Regions from separate parts of the Homo sapiens genome. Here all the other regions are linked to region 3. The links are contacts of gene promoters, found by promoter capture Hi-C in blood cells and fetal thymus (Javierre and others, 2016). All regions are on one chromosome and are shown on one strand. Each heading gives the region's core, a stretch centred on a gene start or on the middle of the fragment in contact. The rest is flanking DNA. Distances are from core to core; before and after follow the strand shown.

What was found. The method cuts DNA at HindIII sites, captures the fragments that hold promoters and counts their contacts. A CHiCAGO score of 5 or more calls a contact.
Region 1: a contact is called between a fragment that was not itself captured here and the fragment with the promoter of MTHFD2 in region 3, in 4 of 17 cell types (naive CD4 T cells, activated CD4 T cells, total CD8 T cells and 1 more). The highest score is 8.5, in naive CD4 T cells.
Region 2: the fragment with the promoter of INO80B here is called in contact with the fragment with the promoter of MTHFD2 in region 3 in 15 of 17 cell types (total CD8 T cells, naive CD8 T cells, non-activated CD4 T cells and 12 more); the score reaches 15.6 in total CD8 T cells.
Region 4: a contact is called between a fragment that was not itself captured here and the fragment with the promoter of MTHFD2 in region 3, in 2 of 17 cell types (activated CD4 T cells and naive CD4 T cells). The highest score is 7.3, in activated CD4 T cells.

Annotation. Positions count from the first base shown.
Region 1 is chr2:74,508,323-74,511,268 of GRCh38, reverse strand. No RefSeq gene overlaps it. Among named protein-coding and RNA genes, the nearest start is that of PCGF1, 2.1 kb to the right of the region's middle. RefSeq lists an enhancer at 2,765-2,824. The HindIII fragment of the contact is 467 bases long and covers 1,162-1,628 here.
Region 2 is chr2:74,453,357-74,456,618 of GRCh38, reverse strand. INO80B (INO80 complex subunit B) reads right to left here and starts at 1,532. Exons shown (of 5, transcript NM_031288.4): 1 at 1,445-1,532; 2 at 1,021-1,213; 3 at 683-801; 4 at 347-516. The coding sequence starts at 1,502. INO80B-WBP1 (INO80B-WBP1 readthrough (NMD candidate)) reads right to left here and starts at 1,596. Exons shown (of 8, transcript NR_037849.1): 1 at 1,445-1,596; 2 at 1,021-1,213; 3 at 683-801; 4 at 347-516. RefSeq lists an enhancer at 1,429-2,018. The HindIII fragment of the contact is 3,309 bases long and covers 1,052-3,262 here.
Region 3 is chr2:74,197,061-74,200,472 of GRCh38, reverse strand. MTHFD2 (methylenetetrahydrofolate dehydrogenase (NADP+ dependent) 2, methenyltetrahydrofolate cyclohydrolase) reads right to left here and starts at 1,858. Exons shown (of 8, transcript NM_006636.4): 1 at 1,731-1,858. The coding sequence starts at 1,831. RefSeq lists silencers at 1,100-1,189, 1,320-1,599, 1,790-1,929 and an enhancer at 1,638-2,196. The HindIII fragment of the contact is 3,357 bases long and covers 100-3,412 here.
Region 4 is chr2:74,489,045-74,492,435 of GRCh38, reverse strand. It overlaps TTC31 (tetratricopeptide repeat domain 31), which reads right to left. Exons shown (of 13, transcript NM_022492.6): 3 at 2,309-2,411; 4 at 1,963-2,192; 5 at 1,697-1,780; 6 at 1,252-1,308; 7 at 1,061-1,141; 8 at 764-955; 9 at 381-432; 10 at 207-297; 11 at 1-132. Among named protein-coding and RNA genes, the nearest start is that of TTC31, 7.7 kb to the right of the region's middle. The HindIII fragment of the contact is 4,043 bases long and covers 1-3,391 here.

The sequences.
Region 1 (2,946 bases), core at 146-2,645, 310 kb before region 3:
TCACGGGGAAAGGATGGTTCCTGCTGGTTTATATTCAAGATTGGCTAGGCGCGGTGGCTCATGCCTGTAATCCTAGCACTTTGGGAGGCCTAGGTGGGTGGATCACGAGGTCAGCAGATTGAGACCATCCTGGCTGACACGGTGAAACCCCGTGTCTACTAAAACTACAAAAAATTAGCCGGGCTTGGTGGCGGGCACCCGTAGTCCCAGCTACTCGGGATGCTGAGGCAGGAGAATGGCGTGAACCCGGGAGGCGGAGCTGGCAGTGAGCCGAGATCGCGCCACTGCACTCTAGCCTGGGTGACAAAGCGAGACTCCATCTCAAAAAAAAAAAAAAAAAAAAAAGACGAAGATAGAGGTGCTGGAATGAGTGCCCCCTCATACACACTGCTTTGGATCTGTCTCACCATGTCCTGTGTGTCCGTGGCTCTCATCAACTTAGTCTTTCCTACCCCTCAGCTGTCTCAGATCTTTATCATCTGGACAAAATCTTTGCCTGAGTCTTCAAGAGAGATCATGCTTTTCCTTTCCTTTTTACTTCATGCCTACTGCCTCCATTTCATCATGATTTATTCTTGTTTTAACTCAGTGCAAGCTGCCTTCATTATAGTAACCCTTTCTCAGAGAGCTCCAGTGTTCAGTATCCCTCCTCCAGGACTTCCCTGGCATGTTTTACTTTGTTGGTCATCAATTATTTTTTGAAGTGTCCCTTCTTTTTGCTTCTGTAATATCTTATTCCACATCTTTGGACTTTCGTAGTCACTGCTTATGTTTTTCCTCCACTGATTTTCCTTCTTCCACTGAAGACTGTGAGGATTCTTCAGAGCTCAGACTTAAGCTTTCTTTTTTCTTTTCTTTTTTTTTTTTTTTTAAGACATGGGATCTCACTCTGTCGCTCAGGCTGGAGTGCAGTAGCATTATCACGGTTCACTGCTGCCTCAACCTCCCAGGCTCGAGCAATCTTCCTAACTCAGCCTCCCAAGTAGCTGGGACTACAGGTATGCGCCACCATGCCAGGCTAATTTTTGTACTTTTTGTAGTGACGGAGTCCCACCATGTTGCCCAGGCTGGTCTCCAACTCCTGGGCTCAAGTATCCACCTGCCTCAGCCTCCCAAAGTGCTGGAATTACAGGCATTAGCCACTGCACCAGGCCTTAAGCTTTCTTTATCTCTTCATCTGCTCAAGTTTCACCCATTCCAAAAGTCCCAACTCTCATATCCAGCCAGATAACTCTGAGACCTCCATCCCTTGTTCTGACACTCCAGCCCCACCGCTCACTCTCCTAGCCTTCTGACAAGCTCCCCCTGCTTCCCTGCAGCCACCTTAAGTCCAGCAGGCTGGAGGACATGCTTCCCTCCAAAGCTCTTCATTCACCCTCTTACCCAGGCCTACCAAGCCAGGTTCCTGGCTACTTCCTCCTATTATACTTTCCTTTGAACTGTTTCAGATACAGCCCTTCCTTTCCATTGCCATTGCTAAAACCCTAATCGAGGCTGTCATCACCACCACTTGGATTCATTCATGTATTCATCCAGAAAAGTTTTATTGAACACCAACTATGCACCTGGCACTGGAGCTATATCTGTGAACACAACAGAGGAAAAAAAATCCTTGCCACTGAGAAGCTTATAGTCTAGTGGAAAAGGCAGATGAAAAACTAGGAAATATGTTTTCTAGAAAATATTTTCTGAAAATAACTAGAAAATATAATATATATTAGAAATGTATATTAAATAATAATAAATGATAGAATGCTAATAAGTGCTAACCAGAAAAAAAAGAGCAAGGAAGTGAAAGGGTGGGTGAGTTGTTATTCATCTAGAGTGATTACAGCAGCCTCATGAGTAAAGACCTGAAAGAAGGAGGGAGCCATTTTGGATACCTAAGCATTTCAAGTTGGGGACACAGTGGAAGGATATCCTGGTGTATCTGAAGAGACTATGCAGGCCCTTGCACACCACTCTGAGACTTTGACTTTCATTCTGATTGAAAAGGGAAGCTCTCAACAGGTTTTAAACGTAAAAAAGGAACAACCTAATTTTTCAACTTTATTTTTAATAGCTTTCTTGAAGTATAATGGACATATAAACTGCAAATATTTGAAGTGTACAATTTGATAAGTTTTGACATATGTATATACCCATGATACCATCATCACCATAAAAATAATAAACATATCCACATCTCAAAAATTGTCCTTTGTCCTTTGTGTTTCATGTTTTATCAGAATCACTAGCTCTGAGAAACAGCACTCAACTGTGATGTTGAGAACAGGCGAAGGGGGACTCAAGGAAAACAGTCAAGAGGCCACTACAGAGGACAGATGATAGTGGCTCGGACCAGGGAAGTAGGTAAACAGGGGCTGTAACGAATAATTGATTAATCACTAATCTCATAACTTCTTGCTGCATATTCACTTCAATTCACTCTGAAGAGAAATGAACAAAAATGTCGCTTTCACAGGATAACCTCCCTTCAAAAAAGTCCGCTAGCTCCCAATTGCCCTCAGGCTAAAAATCGCAACTCTTTATGGCCCTGCTTTTTCTATTACCACTCTCAAATCTACATCTTGACCTTCCTGTCCTCTGGTCATTCCCCTCCACGTCCTTTCTATTTCACCACACTTCCACCCCCTCCCCCAAGTCTAAATTGTGCCCAAAGTCCCACTTTCTCCAGAAAGCCTTTTTTGAGGTCTCCATTGGAATCTCTCCCTTCTCGTATCTCCAGTTGCATTTGATGTTAATACCTCATAGCAAATTTATCCCTTTTTAAGTACCCAGAGCCGGCGGTGTAGAGCTCTCGAGCGAGCACCCCGCGTAGTCCCCAAGTGCGGGACTGGGCCTATGCTACTACAGGCGCTCGCTGCCTAAGCCTGTCTGTGTGTGGCAGTGTCCTAGTCGTCCTCCCCTCCTCCTTCGGCATCTGCTCTGCATTAGTCTGTCCCA
Region 2 (3,262 bases), core at 283-2,782, 260 kb before region 3:
GGTCTCTGCTCAAAAGCTCTTCTGGTATTGCAAATGTTATCTCTTCAAAGAAGCCTTCTCTAACTACCCTAATGTCTCTCTTCCATCATTTCTATCTGTTTGTTTACGCCACTTTCTATTTCATCACCCTTTTCTTTTTGTCATAAACCATATAGCTTTTTGAAATTATTTACTTATTTACTTCCCAGCCCCCCAACACACACACTAGAATACTAGCTCCAGGAGAACAGAAACTTTGTCTTTTCTCTACTATCGATATCCCCAATGCCACGCAAAGTGCGTGGGTCGTGGAGAGTTCTCAATACTGTATACATTTGGTGAGTGAATAAACAATGAACCAACATACCTGTCGAGCAGTAAGCAGCCGCTCATTGATCTCCTTCTTGAGGTCTCCATTGTCATCCAGCTCCCCCTTCTCCAGGGCATCCAGCCACCTCTGTTCCTCCTCTTCCTCCTGACCCCCTAACCCTCCTGATAGGTCCCGAAGTGGAGAGGGAGAGAGATTACTGTCTTCATCTGGGAAGGAAGTTGGAGAAAGAAAAACAGAATTGTTCAGATGGGGCACCCTAATTTGGCTGAGTTAATACTGGGACATGGAAAATCCTAACCCATTTCAGAACCAACCTTCTTTCTTTAGGCGGGTATAATAAGAAACCCAGTTTCCCCACCTCCAGATCCTCACCCAGCCAGGCACGGTACTGCTCAAGGGGGACTCCTTCCATAGGTTCCTCTTCATTATCCACAACCATAAGGGGAGAGGGTGAGCGAGGCCCCTCTGGGATCACAGTGAAGGTAGGAACACTGCAGAGAAGCAACACTACTCTTTAAAATGAGCAAGCGTCTCCTCCTCCTACTCCGTAGCTACACCCAACTTTCCCCACCCTCTTAGACTCTTGCTGCCTAAATCTGGACCCTGAAGTCACAGTGTCCATTCGGTCTTCTAGAAAGCCCAGTCGGCTTCTAACTACTATCTCTGCTCCTAAAGTTCCCCTTATAAAACTATGACCCTCTTGGCCTCACCTCTTGGTCCCCAGGACTTGTCCCCCAAGCTTGATTTTGAGTTTGAGCTGAGGCTTGGCAGGGGACGGCTGCGTGGGCCCGGCGTCTTCTTCCTGATGGTGTTTCTTCTTGTGTTTCTTCTTGTGCTTCTTGTGTTTTTTCTTGTGCACTCCATGGCCATGGGCACCCGCCAGGCTCAACTCCAGGGCTTCTCCTGTGGAAGGAAAGCCTGTCGACAGTGTTTGGCCGGAGGGTGGCAGGGGAAGCCCTGAATAACCTAAGCCCCTACTGGATCCCACCCTTCCCGCAGTACTCGCTGTTACCATAACAACAGCACCGCCTTTCTCCTTGCCACCTGTGGCCGAAGTACCCTGGACTCTCCGAGGAGCAAGAACGGGACTTCTTTTCTAACACGACCTAAATTGCTTGATCTATTCGCGCTTACCCGGCTCAGGGGCCTCCATAGCCCCAGAGGTGCTCCCACGCCGCCACAGCTTACTCATGAGGTCCTGCGAGGAAAGGGGACTAGAAATGGTTGGGACACACGCAGACACGCCTTTTCCGCCCCGCGGAAAAACTGGAGCCAGCAAAACAACCAGTTACTTCCGGTTCATGGCAACCATCCTTGTGCGGGGCACGCTTCGCGTCCAAAATCGTCCCTGAGAAACGAGGATCCTTCCAACGAACGTTCCGGTCCCTCTGAGGTCGGGACAGCCCAAATGGGCAGGGCTTTCCCCTGGCTCCGCCTCCCCACGCTAGCTTTCAGAACTCAGCGCGGATGAGTCAATTATTGAACACAAGTTTGGTGAATGTATACACTAGACCAAGTGCGGGAAGCTAGTCTAAGAGGATGCAAAGATGAATATGAACACCGCCCCTGTCCTTGAGGAACTCACAGTTGGGTGGAGGAATACATAAACTATATTGATGACAAAATGGCCGAAATGGTTAAACAGCACGAGTGCCCTAAGAGCAGATGCAGTTTAGGTATTTAAACTTCAATTTTCATAAGTAGGGAAATGAATAAATGAATTACGGTGCAGCTGTACAATGCGGAACACCATATTGCTAAGAAAAGTTGAGTTGTAAGTAATTAATGAGATTGACACAGAATTTAAACAATCTAAGTGTCCTGATGAATTGGTGTATCCATACAGTGGGATGTTAAGCAGCTTGGAAAAGAAATGAGGCGCCCCAGAAGGCTATCTAGGAAATTGGTAAGAGTCATTTGCTGATGAGCATCTAGAGAACAAGGGTGGATGGCGACCTATTTTTTTATGATTATACCCTCTTGTGCCTTTTGAATTTTGTATAAAACGTGTATATTTTACCTCATTTTAAAAAAGACATAAAAACAGGTAGGTTTGTATGTGCTGATACACGAAATAAGAAAAGTAAATTTCCCATCCTGGCTAATACGATGAAACCCCGTCTCTACTAAAAATACAAAAAAAAAAAAAAAAATTAGCCGGCGTGATGGCACGCGCCTGTAGTCCCAGCTACTCGGGAGGCTGAGGCAGGAGAATCGCTTGAACCCGGGAGGTGGAGGTCGCAGTGAGCCGAGATCGCGCCACTGCACTCCAGCCTGGTCGACAGAGCGGGACTCCGTCTCAAAAAAAAGAAAAAAAAAAAAAAGTAAATTTCAAGATTATGTGATCTGATTTTTAAAAGCATAATATACTAGCAAATACATAGAAAAAATTGAGGAATGTATACCTGTTAATGTTGGTTAACTGTAGAAGTTGGGGTTGAGGAACTTTCACTATTTAGGTATGTAATGTATTTTCTTACAGCCAATATATATCACGTTTATAATTAGAAAATAACACCTATATACATATATCTAAATATATATGAGTGTCTGAGCAAGGTAACAGCAGTGAAAAGTCTCTTACATTTCAGTGATAAAATTATCAAGAATCAATGAGCAATTATATTGGGGAATCCAGGATTAAGTCATGTAGTATGTGATTATGAAAAGGGATTTTGGAGTCAGACAAGCCTATTATCAAATCCCAGTTTCACCATTTATTAGCTATGCAACCTTGGGCCTAAAATTATTTAAGCTCTCTGAACCTGAGAATCCAGCTCTATAAGATGGAATACAGTAGGATCCACCGCTATGAGGGCTCTTTCAAGGAATAAAGGAAATCAAGAACTCATGATACTTAGGGTGGCAGCAGGCACAGGCACAGGCACATAGTAGATGCTTCAGTAAGCAAATAATAATAACTGACTCATAGGTTTCTAGCCTAAGTATTTA
Region 3 (3,412 bases), core at 609-3,108:
AAAAAATAAGCAGCAGTAAGAAAGCAATATGTGGGAATTGTAAATAGCAAATGTGCAGTACAGATAATATGGATTGCTTTCAGAGATGTGGATGAAGCTTACTTGTTCTTTCAGAAAGGTAGTGAAAAGAGCATTTGTTATTGGAGAGTGTAGACAAACTGGCCCAGTTCTTTAGGTAATGAATGAGAGCATCTTTATAAATCTCTTTTGGACCATGGAAGCCTAGGAAAGGTCTGGTCCACAGTCACATGAGGCCAGCACTCAGGAAGAGGGAGAAGGGGAGAAAACACACAGTAACGAAACATGGGGGAGGTCAAGAGTCAGACCAGGGAAAACCCTGAAAGTCCCCTCCCACGTTTTCCTTCAAGAACTCATTGCTCCAACAAGCAGCGCCTTTGAAATATTTCTAACAGCATTTCCGCACTGACTGGAAATTACACGCGTGTTCTGCCCCTTGTCAGGAACATGAGCTCCATTAAGAACAGTTTTTCTCATCTTTGAATTCGCACAGCTTGGCATAGTGTCTGGTACACAGTGAACGTTAGATGAAAAAAAGAAGGGGCTGATGTTGTAAGGTGCAGGGCTCTAACAATGCCAACAATGCCAGCGCTCTAATGACCGACCAAATCACCTTCCCAAGGAAACCCAAAAATGCAAACAGAGCTTTTCCTTTCCTCCTCCCCTGTATATTTTTCCCAATTTTGTTATTGTGGTAAAATTCACATAACATAAACCTTATCAACTTTTTTTTTTTTTTTTTTTTTTGAGACAGGGTCTCGCTCTGTCGCCCAGACTGGAGGGCAGTGGTGCAATCACGGCTCACTGCAGCCTCGAACTCCTGGGCTCAAGCGATTCTCGTGCCTCAGCCTCGGCGCGTGTCACCACGCCCGGCCCATCTTAACCATTTTTAAGTGCAGTTCAGTGGTATTAAATACGTTCATATGTTGTGCAACCATCACCACCATCCATCTTCAGAACTCTTCATCTTGTAAAACTGAAATTCTGCAAGTACCGCTGAAATATGGGTACTTGTCACTCTCCATTCCCCCTTTCCCTAAGGCCCTGGGAGCCTCCCGGATGTTTGCCACCTCTATGTACGCAGCCCGGCACTGACAGGCTCTGGTGGGCTGCAGCCAAAGCTAGGGTGCCCAGAGTCCGTTCATGTTCCTGGCAGAGCGGAGGCAGCGCGGGCCACTCCCACCGGCGGAGGGAGGAGGGCGGCGCGGGGACCCCGAGCAAGTCGGCTCCGCGATTTCATCAGCTGCAGCAGCGCCCTCCGCCGCTAGGGTCCCCGCAAGGACAACTCGCCGAGGGCTGCTCTTTTGGAACCCTCGCCTGTTCTCCCCCAGACGACTCTCAGCATCCCAGCCAGAGGCGGCCGGCGCTGTCGGAAGGCTCCGCGTAAACTGATGCCTTCGCGTTCCGCACGCCACCCCCGTCCCGCCCGCCGACTGGCCACGGGCCCCGGCGACGCCCCGAGTCGCAGGAGAGCGGCTCCCTCCGAAAGGCGGGCTTCGGGTACCAGCCCTCCGCGCCGAGGAAGCGCCCCAGTCGAGAGCTGCGGCGGCGCTCGGTGCCACGTCGCCCCGCCACACCCCTCAGCGGCCACCACCGCCGGGGCGGAGATGTTCGGGAAGGACTTCCCTCGGTGTCCCTCGGGGGCCCGGCGTGCCCCTCGCCCTCCGTTCCCCTCAGCTTTCCGCGCTGACCGAGCTCTGTGACCCTCTTACCGAACTGCCGCGAGGTGGAAAGGGCGAAGGCGAAGGGAGCAGCTGTGCGCGGGCTGCAGCAGCCGGGCAGCCAAAGCAGACATTAGAGAAGTCGCAGCCATAGACCGCGCCGGTGACTGCGCCGGGAGGGAAGCGCGCGCGCGGGCCACGCGGTTATACTGCGGCCTCGTGGCAGGCCCCGCCTCCCTCCGCCACCCATTGGTCCCTGCCGCATGCCACTGGCTGTCTGTTGAGCCAGGTGGAGCCGAAGGGGCCAACCGGTTTTCTTTATTAAACGTAAGCGAAGTCCGAAAGAGCCCTGCTTTTGATTGGAGCCAGAAGAGCCTGGAGCGAGGTCCTGTAAGGCGCTGAAGCCTCGGCAACGTGCCATGATAGGCTGAGGAAGTCAAACTCCTGCCTGACGCCGCTAGTGTCACCGAAGGCCGGACAACACAAGAGAAAAGTTCATTCATTCATTCGTTGAACAATTATATGAGCGCCTACTGTGTGCCAAGCACTGTAAAGGGTGGATGAAAAGACAAGCTGATAGAATGCCAACGAACAGAAGTAAAAGGAATGATGGAGTTAGAAAATCACCATTTTCCAAAATCAGTACATGGTGGCGCGTGACTACAGTACCAGCTACTGGGGAGGCTGAGGTGGAAGGATCACCTGAGTTCAGGAGGTTGAGGCTGCAGTGAGCTGAAGGCGCGCCACTGCACTCCAGCCTGGGCGACGAGAGTGAGACCATATCTCAAAACAACAACAAAAAAAGTAAAATCATAAAAGATATTCAGAGACAGACGTCAGGGTTGCATGTGCAACCCTGATTCAGAAGCAGCAATAGATGTCAAAACAACTGGGTGAAAGTTGGATGAGGAGCAAGATATTTACATATAGGGTTGCCAGATCTAGCAAATAAAAACACAAGATGCCCAATCAAATCAGAATTTTAGATAAACACTTTGGGAGGTCATATTTATACTTTATTTATGGCTTATCTGGAATTCAGATTCAACTGGGCTTCCTGTATTTTTTCCCGCAAACTTTTTGCATAGTCTCAAAGTATCTCTCCCGCAAGGAAACTTAAGGAGGGCAGGGCGCGGTGGCTCACTTCTGTAATCCCCAGCTCTTTGGGAGGCCAAGGCGGACGGATCACCTGAGGCCAGGAGTTCGAGACCAGCCTGGCCAATGTGTTGAAACCCCCGTCTCTACTAAAAACACAAAAAATTATCTGAGCATCGTGGCGGACGCTGTAATCCCAGCTACTGGGGAGACTGAGGCATGAGAATCGCTTGAATCTGGGAGGCAGAGGTTGCAGGGAGCCGAGACTGTGCCACTGCACTTCAGCCTGGGCAACAAAAAGACTCTGTCTCAAAAAACAAAACAAACAAACAAAGAACAGGGGAAACCAATCCTGTCAACACCTTGACCTTTACTTCTAGCCTCCAGGAAGGAAAGGAAAATGGTAAATTTACAGTGAAGAAACATGACAGTTACTGCTTCAACCACGTGATCAAAGTTAGCACCACCCAGTAAGGGAACACACATATATGCCTTCTGATAGGATCCATTGAGGAGACACATCACTTCGTAGCTCTTAACAAGTCTGTAAATTTAATAAGGTGATTTTCCTAAACCAATGAGTCTCCTAAAAACGGTTACAGATTCCTCATTTCACATTGAGAAGAAAGATCACAGAC
Region 4 (3,391 bases), core at 684-3,183, 290 kb before region 3:
ATCAAGGCCTTGCCCAGGCGGAAGAGGCCCCGGGGCCAGCCAGGCCGTAGGGTAAGGGCCACCTGGGCATCAGCCAGGGCCCACGCTGGCTGACCCAACCGCTCATGGCAGAAGGAACGATTTCCAAATAACCTGATAAAGACAGAAGGTGGCCAAAGGTCTGAGTCCTCAACACTCTGCCCTGCCCTGGCCAAGCCCCCACCTACCGGTGGTCCTGGGGGTTGAGCTTCAAGGCCTGGGTGAAGAGGACCACGGCCTCATGGTAGAAACCATTTTGAGCAAAGCTGGTACCCAACTCTGGAAAGGAAAGAGGGTGAGAAGGTTCAGATGGGGCTACCCCAGGGAGGGTGGGGTGAGGACGGAGAGAGAAAGGATCTCACTTGCCAGTTCCTGGCTCTGTTGTAAGGCAGCTGCCAGCAGTCCCGGAGATGCCTGGGGATAGGGTGCAAAGTCAAGCAGGTCTTGAGGTCTCAGCCTCCCCAAATCCTTCTCCTTTGTTTAAACAGGTAACACTGCAATTAGCATTACCCAACTCATGTAATCCTCATGACAGCCCTACAAGATGGTATCAGCCCTATCTTCCTAGACAGGAAACCACCCGGGGTCATGGTGACAGTGATGGGGCCTGACTGTAGGTCTCTTGACCCTAGAGCCAGAGAACTCCCACTGGACCCTGTGTCAATCCTTAGACCCTGTGCCTCCCCAGCAGCTCCTTGTGCCCCTTCCACGGTTCCAGCTGAATAAGGTTCTTCAGCCACCTCACCTGTACCTTTGGACTCTGCTGGGGCCTCTCCTCTCTTGGAGGGCTCTCTTCCTCTTGACCCATCTTCTGGAGGGCCAGACCCCTGCCTTGGGGCTCCTGGTTCAGTCCCTTCTCTCTGCGGGCACTGAGGGGCCAATCCCCAACCTTGCGCAAAGCCAGAGACACAAAAGTGCTAGATAGATCCAGTGAGTCCTGTGAACAAAATGGAAAGTTAGGGAGGGGGTGGGGATGAAGTACATTCTGGAGGAGGAGGAGGAAAATGAGCAGAGACCAAGAAGGGAAAAAAGGGGCTCTCACCTCTTCTTCACCACACTGTCCCTGAACTGGGTTTCCAGGGCTGGATGGGGGGCTCTCATCTCCATCTGAGGTAGTGCTGGCCTGGAAGAAAGATAGACAGGTACAGAGTTGGGATCACCTTGAGCTGCCTGCTTTCTTGGCCCTCACCTTCCTGGCACTTGGTGCTCTTAGTACCTGCCCTAGATACTCACCTTGGGCTCCCCACAGTACTGCTCCAAACGCTCCTGTCGCTTCCGTTCCTTTTGACGCTGCAATAGTAATGGTAACAATGATGTATTTTGAACACTTACTGTATGTCGTGTGCTGGGCTAAGATTTCGCATTCCATCTTTGCAGCTCTATGAGACAGGCATCATTATTATCCTCATTTTGCAGGTGAAAAAGCAGACAAGAGAGGCACCAGCAAGAGGCCTCATGTAAGGAGGCAGATTCCTACCTAGGCAGCACAGTAGGATTCCAGAACCACTGCACCAGATGGCCTGTGAGAGACCCCCCAGTCCCTGGGCCCCTTGTGTCCTCCTGGCAAGAGAGTCCACTGCAGGCCATCTTGAGCTCTCTCCTGTTCCCACAAAGTTTCCTCTTTCCCTCTCCCAAATCCCTTTGGCTCCCCTGCACCCTCCAGCCATGCTCTAGCCACCTTCTTCTTGAGTCGCTTTTTCTCTGCTTTCTGTTTCATGCGCTCCTCCTCAGCCACCAGCTCCTCAGCCAGGCGATTGGCTTCCTGAAGGACGAAGGGCAGGTGACAGAAAAAGAGAGAAACAGGGAAATGGAGAGCAAACATGAAAGGGGGCAGGCAGTATAGAAGGATCTTGAAAGGTACCAATTAGGGGAGAATATAGGGATGGGGATACAGGGATTGAAAGAACCCTGGGGGACGGCAAAGCCCTCTCCTGAGAATCTCACCTCTTCTGTCACCAGGAGCTTCTGGGGCATGGCCACCTGAAGCAGGCTGTCTGAGACACTGGGGAAGGTGGCAGAGGCAGAGGGGCTTTGAGGGCAGGGCTCAGACTCTTGGGGAGGATACAGGAAGGACTTGCGGAGACCACAGTAGGTGCCCAGTCCCTCAGCCCCCTTGCCCCTGTCACTCTGTCCAGTTGATTTCCCTTCATCATCCAAGTGGCCCAGGAGGTAATCTGTCAGGAGGGAGAAAGAGACAGGAAAGAAAGGACATGAGAGCGGGGTGCATCTGAGGGTCAGCCCTCCCAGGGTACCAGCCTCGATCCCTGGGCCCGGTCCCTGCACTCCCCACCATGGTGCCACAGCTGCAGCCGCCCGCTGCTCCCATCCACATGGATCCGGTGCAGGCCCTGGGGATCACTCTCCACAAGCCGTCGAAGAAAATCCACTATGTCCTGGGAGGGGAGGGGAGGGGAGGGGAGGCTGGTGTTGGGGGCAGTTCCTGGAGAGAGCAAGGGCTTCGCTGGCTTGATCTCTCCACCATGGCAGCCACCAACCAGCTATCCAGCCCAGAGACTCTCACTGGCTCTGACCTCTCCCTCCTCAGCACCGCAAAATCTGCTGCCCCCAGCTATTGTAGTGAATCACCTCCCCTCGCTGCTTTCCTGCCTTCCCAAGGGTTGAGTATGGTATTCAACCTGGCCTCCTCTACCATCCAGGATCTTCTCTCCTCAACCTGAGTTAGCCACACTGAGGCCCCTGGAATGAAGCCCTCCCACCTGCTCTTCCAGCTAGGCCCCCTGTCATATCTGCAGTATGAACAGCTCCACATAACCCACCCTGAGGCTAGCTCACACCTAAACAAGTACAGCAGCTCCTGGCTGGCCGCTCCTCTGCACCTCATCTGTTTCTCCACAAAACTAAGCTCTAAGAAATTACTTCCCTACTCAGGGACATCCAATAATCCCCCACTGCCAAGGCCATAGGCAGAGTTGAACCTAATTCCTCAGCCTACGATTCAGAGCCTTCCAAAAGGCTCCCAGGCTGACCTTTCCAGCCCTCCTTTTAATCCTCCCCTGCTTCACTGCTGTCCTCCCTCCCACCACCAGGCTCCCTCCAGCCTTGGGGCCTTCCCCCAGCTGCTCTCCAATCCCTCCTAACTCTTGAGCTTCTTTCTCACATCTTGCCTCACCTTCAAGGTCCAGTTCAAATTCTATCTCCCTTCAAAGCCTTCCCAGACCCTTTCATCTCCAATTATCTCTGCCTCCTCCAACTAACCTGCAACCACATTATCTGTGTTACACAATTTAGAAACTTGTTATTGATTGCTTTCTATTGCTCTCCTCATTGGCCAGGCAGCATGGAATTCCAAAGGGCATTGTGCTGGAGTGGAGCCACTTGCATCTGAGGTTATTTTTTCTTTTGAGGTGGATTC